Linked DNA regions of Homo sapiens: all the other regions are linked to region 2. The links are contacts of gene promoters, found by promoter capture Hi-C in blood cells and fetal thymus (Javierre and others, 2016). All regions are on one chromosome and are shown on one strand. The core of a region is centred on a gene start or on the middle of the fragment in contact, and the rest is flanking DNA. Distances in the headings are between cores, read along the strand shown. Region 1 overlaps F5 (coagulation factor V). Region 2 holds the start of SELE (selectin E). Region 3 overlaps F5 (coagulation factor V). Region 4 overlaps F5 (coagulation factor V).

Region 1 (2,700 bases), core at 64-2,563, 170 kb before region 2:
TGGTAACAAAGCACAAACAGGACTGATAAGGAGAGTTGCCCTCTCAGGTCAGAACTTGTCTATTAACTGAAATTAGCATGGCTAGTTGATGAGCTGCACCATCTACCTTGAATCAAGCATGACAGCCCTTCTTCAATGCTTCTTGCTACATGGCCTCATAAAGTTGAAAAATGATGTTTCTGGACAGGCAGCTTCCACTGTTTCAACTGTTAAAACATCACATGGGGTTTCTATAGTAGAAAATGATATTCTTTCCACTGCCTTCACAAGCTCCCCTAAGGGCAAAACATTATATTCTTTGCAGGGTAGGAGATAACTTTTGAAGTTCTTCCTCCCTTTATTTTTCTGGGTAAATGTGTGCTCATTCTTCAGATGTCAGATCAAATATCATCTTACACCCTTCTTGATCTCTGATTGTGATACCTGTTTGTTTGTTGTTGGTTTTTTGACAGCACTCATCGCCATTTGTAATTCAGTATTTGTGAGACTATATGGTTAACGATACTTTTTTCTGCTAGATAGTGGGAGAAAGCACTTGAACTTCAGGGTCAGAGTTGAAAATATCTTGGTGGTTGTATCATTTGCTAACTGTGGGAACTTGGGAAGGTTTCTTGAAGTCCCTTTAACCTCAGTTTTTTCATTTATAATTTAAGATAATATAATCCTTTTTCTAGAGATAACTTTATCCTTTTTGATGGGTTATGAAGACTGGAAAATATTTGTAAAATTTCTGGCTCCTAACAAATGCTCTGATAGCCTGTGGGAATACATGTTCACATTTTGGTTAAGTATTTTCTTTCCCAGTCATGTTGCAATTAATACAGCCTCTTTCCTTTATGTTCTACTTTAGATAAGATAGATCTTAAGTGTGCTTGAGTTCTGGTAACACATGTGAGTAAGATAGAAATTGGTGATTTTCTTAGTTTGGGTTGCTGTTAACAAAGTACCCTGGATTGAGTGGCTTATAAACAACGGACACTTCTTCCTCACAGTTCTGGAGGCTGGAAGTTTAAAATCAGGGTGCCAGCATGGTTGGGTTCTGGTGCAGGGTCTCTTCCAGGTTGTAGACTGCCATCTTCTCCTTGTATCCTCACATGGTAGAAAGAGGGTGAGTGAGAGGGTCCCTTTTATAAGGGCACTAATCTCATCATGAGGGCTCCATCCTCATTACCTAAAAATCTCCCAAAGGAGGGGGGAGGGATAGCATTGGGAGATATACCTAATGCTAGATGACGAGTTAGTGGGTGCAGCGCACCAGCATGGCACATGTATACATATGTAACTAACCTGCACAATGTGCACATGTACCCTAAAACTTAAAGTATAATAAAAAAAAATCTCCCAAAGGCCCCACCTGCTAATGCCATCACACTGGAGGTTAGATTTCAGTATGTGAATTTTTGGAGGACACAAACTTCCAATCCATTGTAGTGATGTATCTATTCCAAAGGCGATGAAAGTAAATAAGACTTTTTTGGTAAAAGTACTTTTTTTTTTTTTTTTTGGTAATAAGTAAGACAAAGTACCTGCTCAAAATTATCAGCAAAATCAATAATTTTAAAGCAAGGGAAAAATAATGCATAGTCCTTACTTTCTAATCAGTCCTCGGCCCCTCAGTTTAGTTCAGTAATGATTAATATCATCATGATCATGACCATCATCATCCACTAGGTTCCAGGCTCTGTGCTAAATGCCAGAGTACAAATGTAAAGAAGACAGGGCCTGGGCCCCTGAGGGGCTCTGCCTAGTTAACTCTAGGGTACATGTTGGTGCCCTAATTGTGATAGGTTTGACCTCTAGATTTCTTCTAGGGCTACAATTAGAACACACTGTCAATCTGGAATGAGAACCAACCAATGTAAGTATCTAAAAATTGCCCAAGATGCTATAACACTTGTGCTAGGTATAGCAGGGTGACTGATTTTCTAACAATATTGAACCTATCTGTAAACAATCAATGTTTCACACCTAGATTTATTTTAACACATACTGGGCTTAAAAAATTATTGTATATACTTGTGTACATGATATTTTGAGATAGATAATGAAAGGTTACTCTAGTCACACAAATTAATGTCTGTCTAATTGATCAAACTAAATTACTCAGAATTTCACATTCGCCTGTCAGTTACATATAAGATGAATTTCAAATAATTAAATGAATGATGTTAATTAAGTTTAGTATACTACTAAAAGTTGAATTATGAGCATCTTGAAACAGTGAATGATATAGACTTGTACATAGGATATATTCTATAATTACACTGAGTGAGATGGCTAATGAGACAATTGGGGTGTAATTTTATCAATGCTTTTATTCTTTTCACTTCAAATTATTTTACCTTTAGTCTAGAATAAAACAGGTTTGTTGTATCTTTGATTTTACAACATACATTAATATAAAGTATAAAATACAAACAGCTATTAAGAGGAAGCATTTGTGAGATGCAGTTTTGGTGAATGTGATTTTGACTTTGTAATCAAAATAAAAAAAATTAAGCTCTAAACTGAAAAGAAGAGAAATGGACAGGGACAACTATTGTGCTAGAGCACAAGAAGTCCTTGTTCAGCTGCTTGCTGGAATAAAATCTTTACACAAGGGTAGCTCTTCATTTATATTTACTCAGTTCTGTTCATTTCCTGCTCAGTCGATAGTCAGCTTTGTATTGTATTTATTCTTGTCATGATGTACTAATTACT
Region 2 (2,700 bases), core at 21-2,520:
TTTCTGATTCCAATCCAGTAATAACTTGGTGAATAGCTCAATATGGAGTTTAGGTACTCAATCTCTTCTTTGTTTTGAATTGCAACCAGGTGTGTGTACCTTTGCTGACAATAAGCACTGGCCTCATCATAAGTCATAGCTTCCGTGGAGGTGTTGTAAGACCAGGCTCCACTCTCTTTAATGAGAAGCACTAGTGGGAGAAAAAGAAAAGAAATGGTAGAGTTTGGTACTGTTGTGGTTTAACTCTGACAACTGTGCTTTTTATTGTCTTATTTTTGGCAATGTTTGTGACATGGCCCAGACTTTTCTCATCTTTTCAAAAGTAAGAAGTACGTATGAAGAAACAGCGACTTATTGTTTATCTCTTTTGTGACTGCCACCCACTAGGTACCTTATCCACACTCACTCACAACATTATAGTATACCCATTTTGTAGTAGAATAATAATCAGAATAACTAAGCTTTATTGAGCACTTAGTATGCACCAAGAAGCACTGTATGAGGTACTTTCCATGAACCATGCTATTGAATCCTCACAATGCATCTGGGAAATAGGTCATTATGATCCACACTTTACACTTAAGGAAAGGGAGACACCAAGAGGTAAAGTAAATGACCCCAAGCCCAGGGAAGAACACATTGCAGGTAGAGGTCAAGGATGCTGCCAGATATCCTGTGCAGGACAGCCCCAGACAAGCAAGGATATTTCAGTCTGAAATATCTATAGTGCGAGAATGAGAAATCTTGGTCTAATGGCACTGACTTACCCAAAGTGAGAGCTGAGAGAAACTGTGAAGCAATCATGACTTCAAGAGTTCTTTTCACCCAAAGGTTTAGGCTTGAAATACTTTCCTGGGGAGATAAAACACAAAATGAATTAAAGAAGGAAATCGTGGGTAGCTAGTTACATTATTCTACCATGATGTTTAAGGCAGCATCCTAAGATTTTGGGCAAAGGACACTAGTGCAATAATCTTTATTTCAGAGTTTAATCAAATAAATAAACAAATTTTAAGACTTTCATTATTTAGGTCAAAGAGAAAAGACAGGTTTTAGCTACAATACAATAAGAGCTTGTACAGATGTGGTTTTTATTAGAAGGCCTTTTGCATATCTGTGTTTCATGGCCCGAGGCTGCCCTTATAAAGCGTTCTGCACTTACCGTTTTGGGAAGCAGTTGTTCAAACACAGGATCTCTCAGGTGGGTATCACTGCTGCCTCTGTCTCAGGTCAGTATAGGAGTTTTGATGTGAAGTCAGCCAAGAACAGCTGAACACTACTTCGGCTGAGGCCCTTTTATAGGAGGGATTGCTTCCTGTGAATAATAGGAGGATATTGTCCACATCCAGTAAAGAGGAAATCCCCAATGGCATCCAAAAACTTTCCCGGGAATATCCACGATGCTTAAAATTACAATGATGTCAGAAACTCTGTCTCTTGAAGCTACTTCACCTTTGTCCATGCCTTTATATCGTATATGCAATTTTATTAATATGACAAAAATGCATGATTTTTAATTATAATAACATAAAGTCTATGTCTTTAAAAAGTTGTAAAACTTTGCTTGTTAGTAGTGTCTCTCATGTAGTTGTGGTAGTAATTAGAATTTCAGAAACAGAAGGAAACCAAGAATAGGTTTGTCATCCATAGTCTACTACCTTCAATTTCTCATTCATAGCTGTGGATAACCAATCACTACTCATTTTTTCTTCCTTTTTCACCTGCCAATTCAACATATTTAACATGCACTGTCTCACAGAGGAATGACTCACAAGGTAGATATTAATCTTCAGATTTTGCACGGCAGTTATGCCTAAATTAAAATATTATCTAAAAATAATATCTAACACTCAAATGGTTAAAATAATGCCTTATTTTAAAAAAAGAAAAATGGGAAATAGATATTTACATCTGGGAAAGTTTCATGGTTTGTTCAGTGAAAAAAATAAAAAGGAGGCCAGGCACAGTGGCTCACGCCTGTAATCCCACCACTTTGGGAGGCCGAGGCAGGCGGATCACCTGAGGCCGGGAGTTCAAGACCAGCCTGACCAACATGGAGAAACGCCATCTCTACTAAAAATACAAAATTAGCTGGGCATGGTGGCGCATGCCTGTAATCCCAGCTACTCGGGAGGCTGAGGCAGGAGAATCGCTTGAACCCGGGAAGTGGAGGTTGCAGTGAGCCAAGATCACGCCAGTGCACTCCAGCCTGGGAAACGAGTGAAACTCTGTCTTAAAAAAAAAAAAAAAAAAAGAAAAGAAAAGAAAAAAAATAAAACGGAAAACTATATATATATATTTAATTGGTCAAAATTTTGTTTAAAATTTTTGAAATGTTAATGTGCAAAGAATAAAAATTCTTCCACAATGTTAACAGTGACTAACTCTGGATGGCAGGATTTGGGATAATTTTTATATCCTTCATTATTATTTTCAGGATTTTAAAGTTTTTTTCAATTTCCCTTTTTTTCACCTTTATAGTAACAAGAATACAGTTTAAAGAAACTTGTCTCTAGGCCAGGCATGATGGCTCATGCCTGTAATCCCAGCACTTTGGGAGGCTGAGGTGGGTGGATCACCTGAGGTCAGGAGTTCCAGACCAGCGTGGCCAATATGGTGAAACCCTGTCTCTACTAAAAATACAAAAATTAGCCGGGGTGTAGTGGCGCATGCCTGTAATCCCAGCTACTGGGGAGCCTG
Region 3 (2,700 bases), core at 125-2,624, 210 kb before region 2:
ATTGCTCAGAAAAAACACTGAAAGAATGAGATTTCTAAAACCTCTGGCTATCCATTCTGGTATTTAACATTACCCCCTGGCAGTTAATATTTAAATTCTGTTGACTATAATTTATGACTGTTTCCCAGATTGTGGGTGAAAATGAATAGATATGATTATCTTCCTCAAACACACTGAAAAATGTCTCCAGTTTTCCTCTCTCCAATGCAGGTATTTAGGTTTGCAGATTTAGAGACACCAGCCAATCCTAGCTTCTCAGTCTGTCTGCAGGCTGATAGGAAGGATGACTGATCTTCTAATACTTGATGAAAAGATGAGTAAATTTGACTGAATCTCTTCTGTCTCTGATTTTAATACAATAAATTATCTATTAATTATTATATTAATTAATTAATATGATATTAATATAATACAATTAATACTCTCTAGATGTATTAGTGAGTTACTGGCATGTGAAAAACCAATAAGAACCCTCTTTTTTTCCCTGCTCTTAATCAAACCAGTCCATTTGGACTTCTGTGCCTGCATCTGAGGCAGATTCACACAACGTCACCCAAAGTGCTGTCGAGGGGCTGCCTTCACTAACTCCTCAGGCAGCATGTGTTAGGTTGGTGCAAACTATAATTGCGGTTTTTGCCATTACTTTTAATAGAAGGCAAAATAGAAGGAAGGCTGCTTGTTAAAAATACAGACTCCTTGGAATTCTGCCCAAAATCTACTTTAAAGTCTCTGAGAACAAAATCCCTCTGCCTTCACATCTGCATTTTAACTGACTTCCTAGGTTTTTATACTGCTGCACAAGTAGATACACTTACAAACAACTCATTGGCACAGAAACATCCCTTCTGTATAATTGTAGACTGTTTAAATCTACATTTATCTTTATTTTGCACATGAAAAGTTCTAAATACCTTTGTTATTCTTTAACTTTTATTATTATTTTTTAAAAATGTTTTCCTCTTCAAACAGTCTATAAGTCAGTTTAAGAATGTGATTCCTGGAGTCACTTGCCCAAAGATATTAGGGTGATAGGGCCTAGAAGAGGAGCAGAACTGAAGAATCTGGAAACCCTCCCAGCAGAGATAGCTGTAGCTGCCTGAGCCCTGTGGGATTCATTTTTTCATCTGCTTAAGACCTCATCTGTATGACACACAGTGGCTTGGGAGAAACTGCATGTTATGTTGCAACTGAGTTGGGTCACACATTTAGCCTGTGTGGTGCTGCAAATAGTTCATAAATTAGGTGACATTTTTGTACTCCGTATATACTTTGGGTCTATGGGTTTGCCTAGGCTCTATGCCAGAACCCTGTGTTCTGACCCCTTAGGAAGTATATGCACAAGGAAGAAATGAGAAGGAGTTACAGATTGCCTTTTCCCTGTATTTCTTAGCAGGGACCTCTTCCCATTACCCAATCTTTACCAGGCAGAAGGGGCCAGACCCCTAACTGGTGCTGTTTATTGCCATTTTCCAGCAAGGTCTGGCCGTGAAAGTGAACCACGTGAATGTCTTGGGAGCCGCCTATGTTCAGCAGGTGTAACCTCACCCACTCTTGCTCATACATTTTCAGGCCAGGCAAGCTGTAGATCATCCCATTAATGGCTGAAAGGACAAAGAGTTGAAATCAATTAAAAATCTGTTGACACAGAGAGGGCGAGTGGTAAGGAAATATGGGGCAACCCACTCAACACCCATGTTCCTCATGATTCTGCATTCCCAGGCCTACCTAGCCATGGAAAGGGCCCTCTTGTATGTCACATTAGTGAGAGGCTAAAGCAGAACCACTAGTCCTTCTCATATCATTCACACCAGCCTACAGCAGAAGGCAGGGGGAACTCCCTTTCCAAGCAGTTTATCACTCTTTTCCTCAGCTTTTACAGTTCCGTGCTTTACCCGTGTATACTTTCCATTAACAGTCTTAATTTTCCTTAACTACAAAAGATAAATACAAATATGGGCAGACAAAGTAAACTCCAGGGATTAGAGTCAGCAAGGAGATATGCAGCATGTCACCTTAAGGCCTTCTAAATTCAGAGAAAGTTTCAGGCAAATTAGGAAGTCTAGGAGTTTATAAAATTAGGAGTTTATCGTTGGTGTATCCAGCAACCATAGCAAGTCATGTTTATTCTCTTATTGGTATGACAACTCCTCTGCCCACTTCTCAGATTAGATAACTAGGGTTCTCAGGCTTTATCTACTCTCCCCACAGTAAAATACGCGGATTTTTTAAAAAGTTCCTGAGAAACTTGATCACCTTAAAAATGTAACACAAAACTGTAAAGATAAAGTTTAGTGTTACCAAACGTTTAACTGAAACCAAAGTGAAGGAAGTGCTTTGTTTCCTCCTTCTTAAGTTAGAGGAACTGCTGTGAAATTTCAGAAACCAGGCAGGTGAATTTTTGGAGAGGGACGGGTTGAGATCATTTGGGCATCCTTCAAATTATATCAGGCGTGAGAACACCTATCTACATATTCATAACACAAGCTCGTACCTTTCTCTTCTCAGTTTCTGTTTCAGTTACTAGCTTACAGGGCAAATTTTCCTTGTGAATTTCCAAATAGGCACACTTTTCCCAGTGTGACCACCCAAATGCTCTCTTGCCACTATTCTCCTATTACCTGGGTACCTAGTTTCTTATCTCATTTTGTTCTCATATGCTTTGGGTGCCACCTGGTAGCTGCTGAGAGCTAAAACTGTTAG
Region 4 (2,700 bases), core at 201-2,700, 180 kb before region 2:
AAATGCCCCATTATTTAGCCAGGAGACCTAACATGTTCTAGCCAGAAGAAATTCTCAGAATTTCTGAAAGGTTACTTCAAGGACAAAATACCTGTATTCCTCGCCTGTCCAGGGATCTGCTCTTACAGATTAGAAGTAGTCCTATTAGCCCAGAGGCGATGTCTCTCATGATGTCCACGTCACTGTAGTATGGTCTTGTTAAGCACTGGGCATCATTTTCTGTGGGTTCATCAAACTCTAAGATGTTCCACTTATAAGTATAGGTTTCCCCTGGTTGAACTGCTCTGATCATGGTGTTGTTCCTGCCTGAAAGAAAATATATTCAAAATTGTTTTCATTTGCAAAGTTATTTCATGATAATAAATAAATAAATAAGCTTTCGCTGGAACCAATTAATATTGCAAAAGGAATTCTTTTATTTTTATTTTTTTTAAATTATACTTTAAGTTCTAGGGTACATGTGCACAACGTGCAGGTTTGTTACATATGTATACATGTGTCATGTTGGTGTGCTGCACCCATTAACTTGTCATTAACATTAGGTATATCTCCTAATGCTATCCCTCCCCCCGCCCCCCACCCCCCCCCCCCGACAGGCCCCGGTGTGTGATGTTCCCCATCCTGTGTCTAAATGTTCTCATTGTTCAATTGAATTCTTTAAATATTCTACTTGGAACCTGGATAACATGTAGCCATTAGATAATGCTCCACTAGAGGCCACTATGACACTAATAAAAGACACCATATTTTGTTACCACTAAGAGACAAAACTCCTGAAGTGAGAAGGGTTTGGCTGTGATTTTTAGGATACTCCTACATGTATACTACCTGACTGCAGTAGTGACACCACCGGGCAAGGAGAATAGCAGAAAAATGTGGCAGCCTCTCAGAAGTTACTAGTTGGATTCAGTAGAAGTGAAAGATTCAAACCTGAGGTGAAAGAAGAGTTGACTTCATCTTCATAAGGCGAGAAGGTCACTCCATGAGGGTAAATGCTATAGGGGCGGCTGGCCATATTTTTGAACACGATCTACAAAGTTAAATCAAATTTATTCTAGGATTTAAGGTTGATCATGACAAATAATATAAGATACTAGCTTTGCATATTCACCTTTTGGATGGTGTGTGTGTATACATGTGTACACACAGTAGGAAAATTAGATCTGTTTATCTGAGCAGTAACCTCCCCTCATCACTTGGCAGGAGCATTGGAGAGAGTGTTTCACTCACACATTAAGGTGGAAAATGGAAAGAGAAGTCTGACTTTAGAGGATAGGTTAGGAGAAGTGACGTTTTCCTCACAGTATCACTCTCTCCAAGCAAGTCCTCCTTCCCCTGCCCTTCTCTTTTCAGCTTGGGCCACATCTCATTTTGAATCTGCTTCTCATCTCTAGACCATGATCCCCTTCCCCTGCCCGGTAGATTTTTTAGGACACTGTCTTTGAAGTCATCTTCTCAGCTAGGTTCAGTGGCTCAAACCTGTAACCCCAGCACTTTGGGAGGCTGAAGCAGGTGGATCACTTGAGCTCAGGAGTTCAAGACCAGCCTGGGCAACATGGTGAAACCTCATCTCTACAAAAAAATACAAAAATTAGCCAGGCGTTGGGGCGTGTGCCTGTAGTCCCAGCTACTTGAGAGGCTGAGGTGCGAGAATCGCCTGAGCCCAGGAAGTGGAGGTTGCAGTGAGCCATGATCACACCACTGCACTCCAGCCTGGGTGACAGAGTAAGACCCTTGGTGGGGGGGAAAAGCTACTTGCTTGAGAGGCACAGACAAATAGCCAGATCCTGAACTTTTAATAAGGTATGTCTACACTTGCTGAGAGCACATAAAAGGGATCAGAAATGGAAGAAGGGAAAGAGGCATGGAGAAAAAAAACTGCTTTTGTCCTTTGGCTATTTTAAATGAACAGAATAGACCTTGTCAGGTGCATAAAACACACAGGAGTCCTAGTTAGGCTCTTTAATCTGCAAAAGAGAACCTTAATCCTATCTTCTATTTGGTTGATTGTCAAAGCCTTTGGATCATCCTTTGTCTGTAGATTAACTACACTCTAGGATTTTGTCAAAGATTGCAACCTTTAATTCTCTGCTGTCCAATTCTTATCTATCTTGGTGAAGTGACATGACATTTAAGGAGAATTGTCTGAGGAAAACTCCGTGCTCTTGATACATGGAGTTTACCTTCATCAGAGTCCAACCATTAGAGAGCTGCATACCTAGACTACATTAAAAAATGAGTAAAAATTGTTTCTATTCAATTGTGTTTACTGTTATATCTTAGCTATAATGAGAAATATTTTAATGCAACTTTTAATCTATTATTTTATGCAACTTTTAATCTATTATGCTGGTTATAAGAATTTTATCAAGGATGCCATCTACTGTATCACTCAGCACTCTCTTTTGTAGAACTCATTAAAGAAGTTCCTCTTAGATCTTAACATCAGGATAAATGGTGCTTTCTTTTTGTAGATGATGTAAACTTCACCCTGACATATTTCCTTTTTTACACTGACTGCCATAAAGCTTAGGACAAAATTTGAAGACAGCCTTACAGGGTCACATGGTATCTACTTATCTGTGGCTTTATTTTCTTTGTCCCCGTATTCTATCCCAATTACATAGACTCCTTGTTTTATGCCTTTATAACTTGAGAAACTGTCTCAGATCCTTTGTATTACTGAGTAAGCTGTAAATA

Evidence for each region. Contacts are between HindIII fragments. The CHiCAGO score rates a contact against its expected background, and 5 or more counts as called.
Region 1: a contact is called between a fragment that was not itself captured here and the fragment with the promoter of SELE in region 2, in 11 of 17 cell types (neutrophils, total CD8 T cells, total B cells and 8 more). The highest score is 9.5, in neutrophils.
Region 3: a fragment that was not itself captured here is called in contact with the fragment with the promoter of SELE in region 2 in 4 of 17 cell types (activated CD4 T cells, non-activated CD4 T cells, naive B cells and 1 more); the score reaches 8.4 in activated CD4 T cells.
Region 4: a fragment that was not itself captured here is called in contact with the fragment with the promoter of SELE in region 2 in 8 of 17 cell types (naive B cells, activated CD4 T cells, naive CD8 T cells and 5 more); the score reaches 7.0 in naive B cells.

Annotation. Positions count from the first base shown.
Region 1 is chr1:169,566,056-169,568,755 of GRCh38, forward strand. All of the region lies in intron 3 of F5 (coagulation factor V), which reads right to left. Among named protein-coding and RNA genes, the nearest start is that of F5, 19 kb to the right of the region's middle. The HindIII fragment of the contact is 2,868 bases long and covers 1-2,700 here.
Region 2 is chr1:169,732,809-169,735,508 of GRCh38, forward strand. SELE (selectin E) reads right to left here and starts at 1,271. Exons shown (of 14, transcript NM_000450.2): 1 at 1,163-1,271; 2 at 768-852; 3 at 1-190. The coding sequence starts at 804. The HindIII fragment of the contact is 3,955 bases long and covers 460-2,700 here.
Region 3 is chr1:169,526,494-169,529,193 of GRCh38, forward strand. It overlaps F5 (coagulation factor V), which reads right to left. Exons shown (of 25, transcript NM_000130.5): 17 at 1,422-1,601. Among named protein-coding and RNA genes, the nearest start is that of SLC19A2, 42 kb to the left of the region's middle. RefSeq lists a silencer at 114-314. The HindIII fragment of the contact is 2,811 bases long and covers 1-2,700 here.
Region 4 is chr1:169,549,710-169,552,409 of GRCh38, forward strand. F5 (coagulation factor V) reads right to left here. Exons shown (of 25, transcript NM_000130.5): 9 at 931-1,030; 10 at 92-306. Among named protein-coding and RNA genes, the nearest start is that of F5, 35 kb to the right of the region's middle. The HindIII fragment of the contact is 2,152 bases long and covers 375-2,526 here.